Regions from separate parts of the Homo sapiens genome. Here region 1 is linked to region 2. Evidence: promoter capture Hi-C in 16 types of primary human blood cells and fetal thymus (Javierre and others, 2016). All regions are on one chromosome and are shown on one strand. Each heading gives the region's core, a stretch centred on a gene start or on the middle of the fragment in contact. The rest is flanking DNA. Distances are from core to core; before and after follow the strand shown.

Region 1 (6,833 bases), core at 3,472-5,971, 480 kb after region 2:
CGAGGATGAAATGAAGTATTTTCAAATGCAGATAAGATGGAATGGCAAAATGGCAAAACAAGATGGAAGACTGGAAGGACAAAGTTTCTGCAGATGGTTATGGCATGTTTCATAATTTCACAATTATCGATAGCATAGATGAAGACCTGGAAACTGCACAACTGCAAAATGTTCTCAGTAAATGATTGAAAGTAGATGAGCTTTGTGCAGGCAGAAATCTACTGTACAACTGGCAAGGGCGCCATGTGGAAGAAGTGCTTGGCTCACTGGGGGGTCTGAATGTAGATTTGCACAGAATTTTTGAAGGGCAATTTGACAGTGTATATCAACATTTTAAAAGTATGTAATTTTGAAATATAATTTACAGAGAAGTGTATAAGACAGAAATGAAGAGCTCAGTGATTGGTCACAAAAGGAACACCCGTGTAACTTCTACCCAGGTCAAAATAACTAGTAGTATTTCACTTGTATTAATGGCAATCCATTTTGCCTTCTATTTGTCTAGTTGGAAAACACTCTTCCATTAACAAATCCAGTTTTTAAAATAACTGTAACTGAAATTCTGGCCAGTTCTATATAAACATTGCATTCCTTTGAAAAGTTCAATGGTTAAAAGAAATCAAAGTATTAAAAGGAAAAATAAATAAATACCAGCCGAAAGGTTTATAGGGGTAGTTGTCTGTGAAGAAGAAAAGGTAAGTTCTCACTGGAGCAGGAGTTGTGGGGTTGCAGAAAGTGGGTACAGCAAGAGTGGAGGAGTGAGAGGAAGGCTGGTGTGGAAATGGTCTGGCAAAGCATTTTAGAGAAGCGGTGGGGCTCAGGGAAAGCCCAGTGAGGCTGGATTTCAGAGTGGTTGGTAACAAAATTCCAAATTTGTGAAAACATAACTCTGAGTTTTAAATACAGCTGATCCTTAAATGATGCAGGGGTTAGGGGTGCCTACCCCCTGCTCAGTCAAAAATCCATGTGTAACTTTTGACTCACCCAAAACTTAACTACTGATAGCCTTACTGATAACATAAACAGTCAATTAACACATATTTAGTATATTAGATATATTATATACTATATTCTTAAAGTAAGCTAGAACAAAAGAAAATGTTATTTAAAAAATCCTAAGGAAAATCCATTGACAGTACTCTACTATATTTATCTGTATTGTAAGTTAACTGTTTACAAGGTGAATTGTCTTTCTGAAATGGCAACCATAGCTGCAGACCTCAATCCACAGTACGTATCAAGCAATCTAACTTTTTCTTGTAATGTCATGAATTTTCTCTGCTTCTTGAGACACTTCCAGCATCACTAGGGGCACTTTGTATGGATTCCATGGTGTGAGTCAAGGTTTACAGTATTGAACTAAACATAATGAAAGCTATGTGAGAACCATGAGAGATCACATGTACTGTGGTTCCAATGGTCTGCAGGGAGAAACTGCTCACCTGGAGATGACCTGCATCACTTGAGTTAAGCAGATACTCACGACAGTTGAGCTCCCCACAATAGCAACAGGAGGTGGCTATGAAGTTTTTACAGTAGTACAGTATATACCACAGTTCATTTGGTGCATTACGATTTAATACTGCATCTTATATTTGTTTACATTTCTCTTGACTGAATTGTGTCATCTACCGTCTGTAAGTGTGTGCATAAGTTTTTATAAATTTTAACATATTATAATGGACTCATTTTATGGTAATAAATGATAAAATGGACCAATATCGACGTATATTTTATACATTTATGACATACTTAACTTTCTTAATTTTTTCATTATTTTTAAGCTACATGGTTCACATCAAAGTTTTTTCAAATTGTTGGAAATGTAGAACACATTTTCTAATGTATTTATTTTAAAAACCCACATAGAAGTGGACTCATGTAGTTCAAATCTGTGTTGTTGAGGGGTTAACTGTTTATCAAATGATCCCTCCCACCAGCCCACACACTGAGGATACATGCCAAGTCTATCATATCTAAGTCTCATTCTCATTCCAGCTTGTTATATTTGAGCAAGCAGCCAGGTGGTCACAGGTGTTAGGACTGAGTAGAAAAATAATCTGGAGCATGGACCACAGAGGCTGTGCTTTTTATCTAGTGCCTAAAAGAGTCTACTGTCCATATCAGTGGCAATGTATTAAATTACATTACAAATTAGTAAACAAATGAAAAAAAAGTCAAACTGTTTAAGCCAAAACATTCAGCCTTTTGGAAAGATAACAAAAATTCAAACATGTTTCCTTAGGGTCCTACTGTGAGCTAGATTAGAATTTTGTAAATTAAAATTAGAATAATACAGGCACCTCAATTTGTTATGTTTTAACAATGAAAATAAAGAAACTGCTTATTAAATTGTTCTTTAGTGAATGTGAGTTTGTATTGTAACTCTATGACATATTTCCTACTCTATAGAGAGAAGATCATAAACCCATAAATGTCTGTCCTTGAAAGCAGAGAGAGAACATGTGCTTCATGATAGCACCAGGCCAGACTGCATCTGTGAAGAATATAGAAAAGTTTGCAAAGGTGTATCCCTTCATTGGGTATGTAAAACACCTCTACCTGTTAATGTCATTAACTGCAGTTTGGGTCACTCCAAAGCATATTATTTCTAGACAGACAACATACAGTGTCTTTAGAATGTAAACACTGGACAACACAGCAAGACCCTGTCTCTACAAAAAATTAAAAAGTTAGCTGGGTGTGGTAGCATGCACCTGTAGTCCTAGCTACTCAGGAGGCTGAGGCAAGAGGATCTTTTGAGCCCAAGAGTTTGAGGCTGCAATGAGCTATGATCACAACACTGCACTCTAGCCTGGGCAACAGAGTGAGACCCTGTCTGTATATTAAAAAAAGAATATAAAGACTGGATCTAGATAGAATTGGCTTTATGTATTACACATATCAGATAAAAAAACCTTCAAAAGGTACATTTTTATAAAATTATTTTTGTGCTAAACAGTATAAAATGTATCATCTTAACCATTTTTAAGTGTGAAGTTCAGTAGTGTCAGCTATTTTCATATTGTTGTGCAACAGATTTCTAAAAGCTTTTTCATCTTGCAAAACTGAAGCTCTATACCTATTAAACAGCAACTCCCCCTCTCCCCTTTCCCCAGTCCCTAGCAACAATTCTGCTTGTTTCTAAGAGTCTGGTTTCTTTAAAACCACATTTAAGTGGAATCATGTAGTATTTGTCTTTTTGTGACTGTCTTATTTCACTTAGCGTAATGTTCCCAAGATTTGACCTAGAACAAACTGCTGAATGTGCTTATTACAGTATCTGTATGCCTTTTGGTGGGAAAATGTTGAAAAAAAAAAAAAAACAAAAAAAAAAAAGACAGCTGGTAACACTGCAATGCCCAACGCCCAATTCCAAAGCTCCTTAAATATTCCTTGCAGAGTTAATGTTTTGGAGCAGTGCTTCTGGCAGGCCTCTTCTCACTTTTTGTTTTGTTAGGGGGCAGTTGATGGCATACCTAATATATTCAACATCCCCGATCCTCTATAGGGCAAGATTACCTTCTGTAATAATCAGTAATAATGATTCTCTTGATTTGTTCTTTAGTTTTATAACAACTACTAAAAGAGTATACATTTTAAAGATATTTCACATATGAAATAAAATTTGTGTTAACAACAAAAATATATCTCACAATTTGCCCTACTTTACTGTTTCCAACTTTATTATTTTTTTCCTTTTATTTTTTGAGATGGAGTCTTGCTCCGTCACCCAGGTTGGAGTGCGGTGGCATGATCTCGGCTAACTGCAACCTCTGCCTCTCAAGTTTAAGTGATTCTCTTACCTCAGTCTTCCAAAGTAGCTGGAATTACAGGCACATGTCACCATGCCCAGCTAGTTTTTGTATTTTTAGTAGAGATGGGTTTTTGCTGCGTTGGCCAGGCTGGTCTCAAACTCCTGACCTCAGGTGATCTGCCTGCCTCAGCCTCCCAAAGTGCTGGAATTACAGGCATGAGCCACCGCACCTGGCCTGTTTTCAACTTTAAATACAAATGAAAACGCTAAGAGGTCACAAAGACTGACATGATTGAAGTAACTCAGGTTTTGCTTCTTCATCTATAAGGCTGTGCCATCATTGCTGATGTCAAATCTACCATCTCAATGCAGGAATGTGTTTATCACTTGAGCCGGATTCAGGCACACACTGTGCCAGACAGCTGGAACAATTCTCAAGTATAAGCGGTAAACAGATGTACTAATTGACAGATTACATGTATATTCTTAAAACTCACCAGTAATCACTGCTATTGTATAGAGTGCAGACCAATAATTTTGTTTTTAGGTAGGAGTGTTTTATTATTGACTTTTTTTTTTTTTTTTTTTTTTTTTTTAGACAGAGTCTTGCTCTGTCGCCCAGGCTGGAGTGCAGTGGTGCATTGTTGGCTCAGTGCAACCTCCGCCTCCCTAGTTCAAGTGATTCTCTTGCCTCAGCCTCCCAAGTAGCTGGGATTACAGGCATGTGCCACCACATCTGGCTAATTTTTGTACTTTTAGTAGAGACAGGATTTCGCCATGTTGGCCAGGCTGGTTTCAAACTCCTGACCTCAGGTGGTCCGCCTGCCTTGGCCTCCCAAAGTGCTGGGATTACAGGTGTGAGCCAACGTGCCTGGCCTTACCATTGACATTTTTTATAATTGCCAGGGAGTAGTGACAATAAAAAGTAGGTCAACTTTCCATTGGTTTTGTTACTTTATAAATTTTTTTTCGATGTTCCCTCTTGCCTGCACCACGGGCAGGCTTACCTTGTTCTTGGCACTCCACCCTCTTGAATGTCTTACATTTTGCCACTTTAGTGGCAAAATGACTCCTCCCACCTCATCAGAGCTGCCACGGCCAGAACTCACTTTCACAGAGGGCCTTGAATTTAGAATGTGGACATGCCATTTATATGAGGCTATTTCTGTAGTCAGAGACAGACCAACAAGAATGAAGGAAGGAGATGTTCACCTTACAATGTTTAACTTATGCCGTTAGTGGACTGCTATGTGTAAATTAATATTGTTAAAAACTCTGAGATTATTTTTATAAATAGCACAAGTATAATAAATTGTACATTTGGGGTGTTTTAAATGGGTTAATTTAAAAAATTTAAATGTTAAAACAGATCGCAACTTTTATAACCATTTTGCCATTTCTACAAAATGACAAAGTAATAGATGCCATTGAGCCTGTTTGCACTGCTAAAGCAACCAACCCTCTGGGTTGCACAGAACTACAGGATTTCACGGGATGCAGGGCTGTCAGTGCTAAAACCCAGACAGTCCTGTCCAGGTAAACCAGGATGGTTGGTTACTGACGTAGGCCCTTCAGAGTACAGCACACCCTAATCTTAGAGGATGCCTGGTTTCTTACTGCTGAGTCTGGAGATTTTTTCTGGTAAAGAACAGAAGATAGATGTTTTCCCTTCATGCTGAAACAGGCACTCAAACTAGAAGAGTTCAGCTTAGAGGAACGGAGGCCTCCACAACCCTCTGCCCACATCTTTCTAAACCAATCTCTAACTCAAATAGACTACCGGACAACAACAACAACAAATGCAATTACATAATGTCCTTTATATAACTCAGAGTAGAGTGTTTTATAAACTAAAATCAAAATGGCCATAGAAAATTTGCAATTTTCTTTCTGACCTGAGAGAGACTTACCTTTCTCAAAATTACCTGGAGGCTGTTGCCACACCTCTGTGGCATAAATTCAGAAAGCCCTAGATTTGGGGTTCCAGGGCTGAAATGTAAGTATCCAGAGATCTAAGAAATATTTTTGAATATGGAACGAAATAAAAGGTTCAGAGAGTATTACAGCCCTGCTGAAACTGTACCCCAAGTGAATCGCATTACTAAAAAATCAATACACATTACCAACAGCCAAACTACTGTATTGTTGGAGGTTTAGTGCTGAAACAAATAATAGTAAAAGAGAATAGTGGTGTTTCTCATAGATTGCATGTTGTCCTTTAACCAATGGCATGGTCTGCAGAATCTATAAATAATGATTTATAGTAGAACTTAAGTCTTGAAATAAAGTCATTTGTGATCAAGTTTGATTAACATATTTGCCTGTTGCTACTTGAAAAACAAAACTAAACCAAATCAAAACAAAAAAGACTTCTAGACCTGAAAGAAAAGAATCAAAATGGTAAAATAAACAAAAAAGTTACGGCAGCTTCATTAATTAACCACTTAAGACTTGGCCATTCACAGCACCAGTGAGATTTCAACTGCAAGGTCAGTTAAAACAAAGGCAATTGGAGCTCATGAATGACTGAAAATAGATTACTTTTATCAAAGTGGAGAGTCAGATAAAAAGTCTCACCAAAAGGATGTGGGGAAGACAGTAATCATGTCTGCATTTGTGGAAAAGTAAACGGATACAAGCTTTTTGGAGGGCAATTTGACCCCATATACAGAATTTTAAATACGCATATACTCTGATTGAGTAAGGTCATTTCTGAGAACCCAGCACACTGAATATTTACACAAATTTGCAAAAATATATGAACAAGGAAAGCTTATTGCTGAATATCTGTAACATTTGTAATAGTTAAAAGTTGACAACCTAGATATTTAACAATAGAGTTAAAAACTTCATTGAGGTGTTTTGTATACACTGACATGGAAGTAAGTTGGGAATAAACTGGGGAGAAGAAAACAAGTTACAGGCATGTACAGTATTAAAATAAGTTAAAAAATAAAACAATCTGAATACATGTGTATATGTATGCTCATAAATAATACAGGAAATACTATATTCCCAGCAAATTGTCAAGGGTGGTTAGTACTTGGGAATGGGACTGGAAGTATTTCATTTGAAT
Region 2 (6,857 bases), core at 3,120-5,619:
CTCCTATAGAAAGCACTCCATGCTGAAGATGTGTGGGTGTCTTTGGAGCTCACAGCTGCTTAGGGAAAAGTTCCAAATGGCTATGAATCCTTGGTGGTAGCCTACATACAGTTGGTGGGGAGTGGGTGGGCCTGGAAGGGGACTTCAGTGATGAGGATCAGCAGAGATACCATTTTTGAACCATATTAGAGGATTTTTAAGGCTCATTTTGTAGCTGACCTTCCCTGAGTCAGCCAGAGCCCATCACTGCCTGGGGAGGGTTATGATGGATCCTAGAACAATGTTCGACTTTGACCCCCAAAGTAAGCTCTGGAAGCCCATGGTGAGACAATAACACCCAAAGTCAGGCATTGTGGAGAAGAAACAGGGGCTTTTAAAATTCCCCAAATTCCCTTCTGCATAGCAAGAGCAAAGCCAGCTCAGCTTAGAACATATTTTTATCCTAAGTGATAGGAGCTGGGGGTGTTGGTGGAAGGGAGGGAGAATGCAAGGGAAGGTCCCTGCTGTTAGAAGAAGGAAGAGCTCCCCACTACAGGAGGGTGGAAAAAGAGGTTCAGAGAGGGCAAGGTTGAGAGGTAAGATACTGTCTGAGTTCTTCCAGGGCTCACAGCCCTGTGTGGATGGGCTGGGAATGGTGGGAAGAGCATGGAGATAGACATCCCCTCTCTGGGGGTCCACTGTGGGGTAGAGATGGGGTCATGGTGAGTAAGCAGAAAAAGAGTGAGACTCCAGGGTCTGCTTGTGATATGGAAAGATCCAGAAGCTCCTCAGCTAATGGCAGCTGAGGGGCTTGGCTGTCAAAGTGGGCAATGGGGTGGCAAAGTGACAAACTTTCCCTTCTTCCCTGCTCTCCACTGGGAAGGAGAGGCTGGGAGCAAGTCTTGGACCTCTGGAGCCTTTGTACACCTGTGGTGTCTAGCACTGTGCTTTTCCACAGGTTGCTTTCTGTTGGGTAGGACCCCTACCCACAAGGGCCATGTTGCATGGTATGGGCCTTCTCCTTTTCCACACCACAATACACCCACATCAAGAGCATACTGACTTCAAGACAGCCCCGATGGTAAACAAACAAACAAAACAACAACCCTGAGTTCTTATTATGATCAAGAGTTTGGGCCAGGGCTTTGCGGGAGGGACTAGGAAAGTCTTCACTCATTTGGGGCCCTGGCATGTATGTCTCCTCTGATTCTTCAATGTACTTCCTCTAAACTTCTCTTGAGAACTTGAGTTTGAAAGTTATATCTCTGTGTCCTTAGATCCTGAATAGTCAATATCTTGAGTGCTACTGCTGCTGCTGATGATGTTGGAGAAGACAACCTCCTTGAGTGCTTAATACATGCCTGGCACTTTCTAAGCATTAATCTTTGTGATAACTCTAAGTTCTATTATTACCCCCACTTTGTAGGTGAGGAAACTGAGGCACAGAGCCATGGAGTAACTTGCCAAGAGCACAGAGCCCTAACCGGCAGGGGCTAGGCCAATCCCAGGCAGTGAAACTCCAGGGCCTCCACCCTTACGCTGTGTCTGATCTCACTTTGTGTCTTTATGGGGCCTGGCAGATAACAGGTGCTCAGCAAAGATTATGCTTCTAAGAATCATCACCCTTCCTACAGATAGGTTATGACTGTAAAGCTCTGGTCAATGGATCTCTCTCTTTGGACTTGATTACTTTTTTTTTAGGCTTTCCTGTTAGTTTTGTCTACCCCATCACGCTGTCCAGCCTGCAGCTGGAGCTCTGGGAGAGTAGATGCTCTGAGGTCTCACCCTCAACTTGGCCTCTGACAGGTTCCCTGCCCAGCCAAACTGCCATCACCAGTAGACAAGCTTCCTGGTAATCCTCACATTGAATTCATGTGATGCATGGATGAGGTATCAACATCAGTCCTGTCCTGGAGCCTGAGGAGTGAACCCAATGATCCCTGAGACCCTTCTAGTCTTCAAAGTCCACACTGACCAGAGTGGTTTTAAAATATTCATCATCTTCTTTAACTAGTCTCAGAAAATAATACTCCAAAATATGAACATTCCCACTTTCAGGCCCATGCACACTCTACACACTTTTCCAGGGCCAGTTCAAATGATATCTCCTCCTCCAGGAAGCCTTCCTTGCTTATCTGGCTGAAATTGAACTTCTCTTGTTTGAACACCCAGCCCTTGGTTTCCCCAAGCCATTCACTCCCTGGTGCCTCTGTTTAGCTTTCCCTGGCCTTGGCTTATTCTCAGTTACAGGCAGGACCCAGATTGCACACACGCTAGGGCCCCACCCCCAGCTCCTTGCAAGCAGATGTCATTGTTCCAACATTGATTGATATGTTTAATGAATCCCATATTTCAAGAATGCAACTGACCAGACATAACTCAGGAGTGGTTTTCGCCATATAAGCGGAGCTCTGAGTCACAAATCCTGTGTCTTCAGAGGTCCTTTAATGTCATTCTCTGCCCCCTCCTCCTTGAGTAGCAACAACATTAACAACCATTGATTAAAGCCTACTGTGCACCCAGCCCTGTGTTAAGGGCCTTTCTTACAGTGCCTTAGTGCATCCTGACAACTTTACAGGACACGGAATTTGTGTCTCCATTCTTCACATAAGGAAACCTGTTGGAAAGGTCGCATAACCAGTCCAAGATTGAACAGCTAGCAGGGTGCAGAGCCAGAAGTGGAAGCCAGGTCTGATTCCAAAGCCATTGCTCTTAGCTTCCTGAGGTCCAGGCTGTCCCTAGCCCCTAAGGCAGCCACTCCTTCCCAAGGTTCTGATGCAGCCACCTATCTGGAGTCACACAGGAGTGCGTCTCTTTTCTTGTGGCTGGATCTCCTAGTGATATGAGGACAGTTCCTGGAGAAGATTCTCCCCTCCTGTCTAAACACACCTAAATGGGCTTGGCCTCCTCCCGCAGCTGGCTTCTAGTTGCATATTGGCCTGGTGGCAGTTCTTCCCCTGCTCTCCCTTCCAAGCCCCCACAACTCAATGTATCAATGATTGTTTTAAACTGTGACTCTAGGATTCCACTAGCCAGAGGCCCTTTCAACCATGGGCCCTCTGAGAAGCTCCTCTGTAGGCCGACAGGAGGGTGGACTTGCTTCGCGTGGTACCCGGGGACTGGGGCAAGCGGCTGCGGGATAGGGGTCTCCACCTGAGCTCCCTGAGGGCACCTCTCCCACTACCACCGCATCTGACCCCCACTACTGGCCCCAGCTCGGGCCTGGAGCCCACGCAGAAGGGGAGGCAAGGTTGAGCGCCCACACCCGGCCAGTAACCGAGGCGCTGGCCCTTGCCGGAGCACTTGGCCGTCTTCCGCAGAACAGCATCACTGGCAGCCGCCCCGCGTGGAGGGTGGAGCCGGGGAGCCCGGTGTGGGACGGCCGGGGCCAGGGTACCCTAGGGCGGAGAGCTCAGGGCTGGCTTCCCGCTCCCAGCCGCGCGCCCCTCGGGCCGGAGGTTCCTGCCGCGCCCCGACACCTGGAGTGCATTAGGCGGCGGCGCGCGTCTAGGCGACGGCGGCTTTCCCCAGATTATTGAATAATTGCATAATTCCGAGCGCGGGTTGGGAGGCAATGCCGGGTCCCTACCCCGGGTGTCAGGTAACGTTTCGGGGGTCCTGCGCTGCGCGACTGTGTCCCGCCGCTGCTGGCCGGGCAGACGAGAGCTAGCCCCCGCCTACCGGCCATCGCCCCGGGGCTTTGCTCTGTCTTTGGCCGGAGGCACTCTGCGCAGCCCTCACCCCCACCCTTCAGCCCTCCGGGGCCGCCGCGCCCGGCTCTCCAAACTTTGAGATGCTTCCCCGGAGCCAGGCAGGAGGGCAGCCAGGGCACACTCTCTTGGCGCTGATTCCCTTCCCCAGCCGGGGCCGTGCGCCCTCGGCGCTCCCGGGACACCCGAGTGCCCCTGGCAGCCGTGCGGGAACCCCGGCATGGGCCTTGGAGGCACCTAAGGCGCCCAGGAGGGCCACCAGATCTGGGAGCTTTTCAACTCAAGCCTCTTCAACTCTTCCCAAACACACCAAAGAGTCCCGGCTTTCAATAGCCTTCGCACCTCCCTCTTTAGCGAAACTTGACTGAACCGCTAGACTGGGGCCAGTCCCTGGGGGACCCACGTCCCCAAGAGCAGCTGAGGTCTGACCCTGGGAGGAGGGTCGCGTCCCGATCCTGGCCGCTGGATCCAAGCCCCGAGGGCCCAGGGAGGGACTCCGAGAGGCAAGGGGAGGCAGAGGGTGGGCACCTACCTGGCCACAGGCTGAGCGCCCAGGCCACCACCAGGCCCCTGGGCAGGTCCATGGCCCGCGGCACGGCGGCTGGGTCCGGTGTGCAGCGGCGGCGGGGGGCGGCAAGCCAGAGCGGCAGCCTCCTCGGCGCGGCGCCTGCAGCCTGCACTGCGCGGGGCGCCGGGCTCCCTGACAGCTGCGGCTCATTCAGAGGAAGTGGGAGGGCTCGAGCGGAGGGGAGGGGCGCCGGACACCACTCCGGCTCGGGCTCTGGGCCAGTCTCGGCCGCTCTGCCACCTGGGCAGGCGGCGCGCTGCCTCGACGCGCCTGTGCAGCGCTCCTTCTCCGCCAACCCCACGTCAGCCTCTGGAGAAAACTCCAGAGAACCGCTCCTGGGAACCCCCTCACCAGTGTAGCACCGCACCGCCTCAGTCAGATTCTGTTCAGGAAAAGTGGTTTTTATTCCCATTTCCCAGTGAAAAGAGATTCACAAAACTCAGAGGGTACCCAAGCTGGCTCAGGAACACCTGCTGGAACGCAGGTCTCCCTTGGCCAAGTGAGTGGATGTCCCTCAAAGGTCCATTCTAAGACATCCCCGTGTCTCCCTGCACCCTGCGGCTTGAATTGTAGAGGCTAGTGTTTCTTCTGACCCTGGAATACATGCAGATTCGCCTCCACTGCCACTCCCTGAGCCTCCACACCTGAGGCATTCCAAAGCACCCAGGGACACCGTGCACCCCCTCTTAACCTAACGTGAAGCTCTTCTTTGTAACCCTGCCACCTTCTTTCCCTCTTCTAATCACTGGTAGTTAAATTCAATGCACATTTATCTCAAGAGCTTTAAATCCAGGCCCCGGACCTCCACCGCGCTTGTGGAGGCTTTTCCAGCAATGGAGGAAGCCGAGGCAGAGGGTAGGAAGGCCAAGATGCAGGGAAAGCCACAGCAGAGCGCCCTTCCCCCACTTTCTCAGGAAAGGCTTCCTTCACCCCCTCTTCCCGTCCCCACCAGGTTGAGTCCCAGACACATGCTGATATTCCCCAGCCCGCTCTCCCTCATTTCTCTTCATTGTGCTTAGTAGAGAAGCAAGGCATCAATTGGTGTGATCATTTAACTTTTCTCTCCTGTGCAGACTGAAAACACCATCAGGGTAGAAATCTCTGGTTCACAATGGAGTACTCAGCCCCTAACACCCAGGAACAAAGTAGGTGGGCGGGTGGATGGATGGGTGAGTACAGGTGGTGTGTGGGTGCACAAAGGATAGAGTTTTCTATCTGGGAGGTATTGGAAGGGCTTCCCAGAGGAGGTGATGTTCAGTCAGGGCCCCTGAAGATGAGCTGGAGTTTGAGAAGACCCAGGTTCACATAAGTGAAGTGGGCTTGTGCTCGTCTCCCAACCTCACTATCTTTCGGTTGGCTATCTGGGTTTTACTTCATCTTCACCTCACCCATTCAGCCACAGACTCGGGGAAGGTGATTCCGTCCCTGGTGTGTGTGTGTGTGTGTGTGTGTGTGTAAGGAGGCATGCGGTTCAGGCTGAAATGAATCAGTATGTTGCCCTTCCCAGCCCATCGTTTCAGAAAGGGCAATATGACAAAAGAAAAAGTTTTTTTGGGAAGCAAGCTTTCTTGCCTTTCTAAAAGAGCCCCTAGAACAAACAAACAAATGAACTAACTCTCTCTCCTCACCTCTCCCACTCCTGCCTCCTCTCCCAGCCTGGGACAAGGAACTTTGTAGGCTCAGAAGTTGACAGGGTCAGGGTAGGGAAGGAGGATCTGGCCTTGAGATGAGGTGGACACTGGATGACAGAATGGAGGATCTTGTTGAACTCCTGAATGAAGCCACCCCTTAACCCCACTCCCCTTGGGACTTATCAGTTATACGACAGTGAGTCCTCTTCACTGAGTTGAGTTTAAGCCAGCTGAGTTGAATGTAGAACACCCCTACAGCTAGGGAATGGGCTGCAGCCCACATTCCTGCCTTGCACAAATCTCCAGGTGCATCAGAACGACCTGGAGCACGTGCAAAGAATGCAAATTCCCCAAGGATCAGGGCATGCTGGTGGGTGCCCCAGGCACCTCTGACGTGTGGGTGGTCTGCAGCTTGTGCTCAGAGTCTGCATGCTGCTTGCTGAAGGGGCGCACTGTAGTGGCTGTCCTAGCTGCGCTGCTGCTGGTCTCGCTGGTAACAATTCTACCATTCATTCACCTTCACCGTCCTCACAGGTGCCTGGGGAATGGGGGTCCTGAGGATCACTCTGTGTGCTTTTGTGTAATGTGGGAGGGTGAGGGGAGAGGTGTGCCCTCATTTGTTCTTTCAACAGATCCTACAGAGTGCCTACTGTGCCCCTGTGCTCTGTAGGACACACGGAAGGAGAACCCCACACTAGGGCAGCTGGTGATGGAGCTGAGGAGACAAGACATAACCATGTATTTATTTAATCATAATCTGTTATTTATTAATCTATTTAAAACCATTTATTATTTCATCACTATTAAACATTATTTAAATCACACCCAAGGCAGCAGCATATGAGTGACAAGTGCACAATCCAGACTCTAAGGCTGGAGAACTGCAGAGAATTTGGTGAAGGGCTTTATGAAAGCTGTGATTTCTGTTGAATAATAATAATAACTCTTTACATGTACACAGTGTTTTAA

Evidence for each region. The method cuts DNA at HindIII sites, captures the fragments that hold promoters and counts their contacts. A CHiCAGO score of 5 or more calls a contact.
Region 1: a fragment that was not itself captured here is called in contact with the fragment with the promoter of ITGA11 in region 2 in 1 of 17 cell types (M0 macrophages); the score reaches 5.0 in M0 macrophages.

What each region holds. Positions count from the first base shown.
Region 1 is chr15:68,907,797-68,914,629 of GRCh38, forward strand. No RefSeq gene overlaps it. Among named protein-coding and RNA genes, the nearest start is that of SPESP1, 19 kb to the right of the region's middle. The HindIII fragment of the contact is 3,346 bases long and covers 3,049-6,394 here.
Region 2 is chr15:68,427,794-68,434,650 of GRCh38, forward strand. ITGA11 (integrin subunit alpha 11) reads right to left here and starts at 4,370. Exons shown (of 30, transcript NM_001004439.2): 1 at 4,222-4,370. The coding sequence starts at 4,273. RefSeq lists an enhancer at 2,771-3,530 and a silencer at 6,077-6,371. The HindIII fragment of the contact is 3,996 bases long and covers 1,823-5,818 here.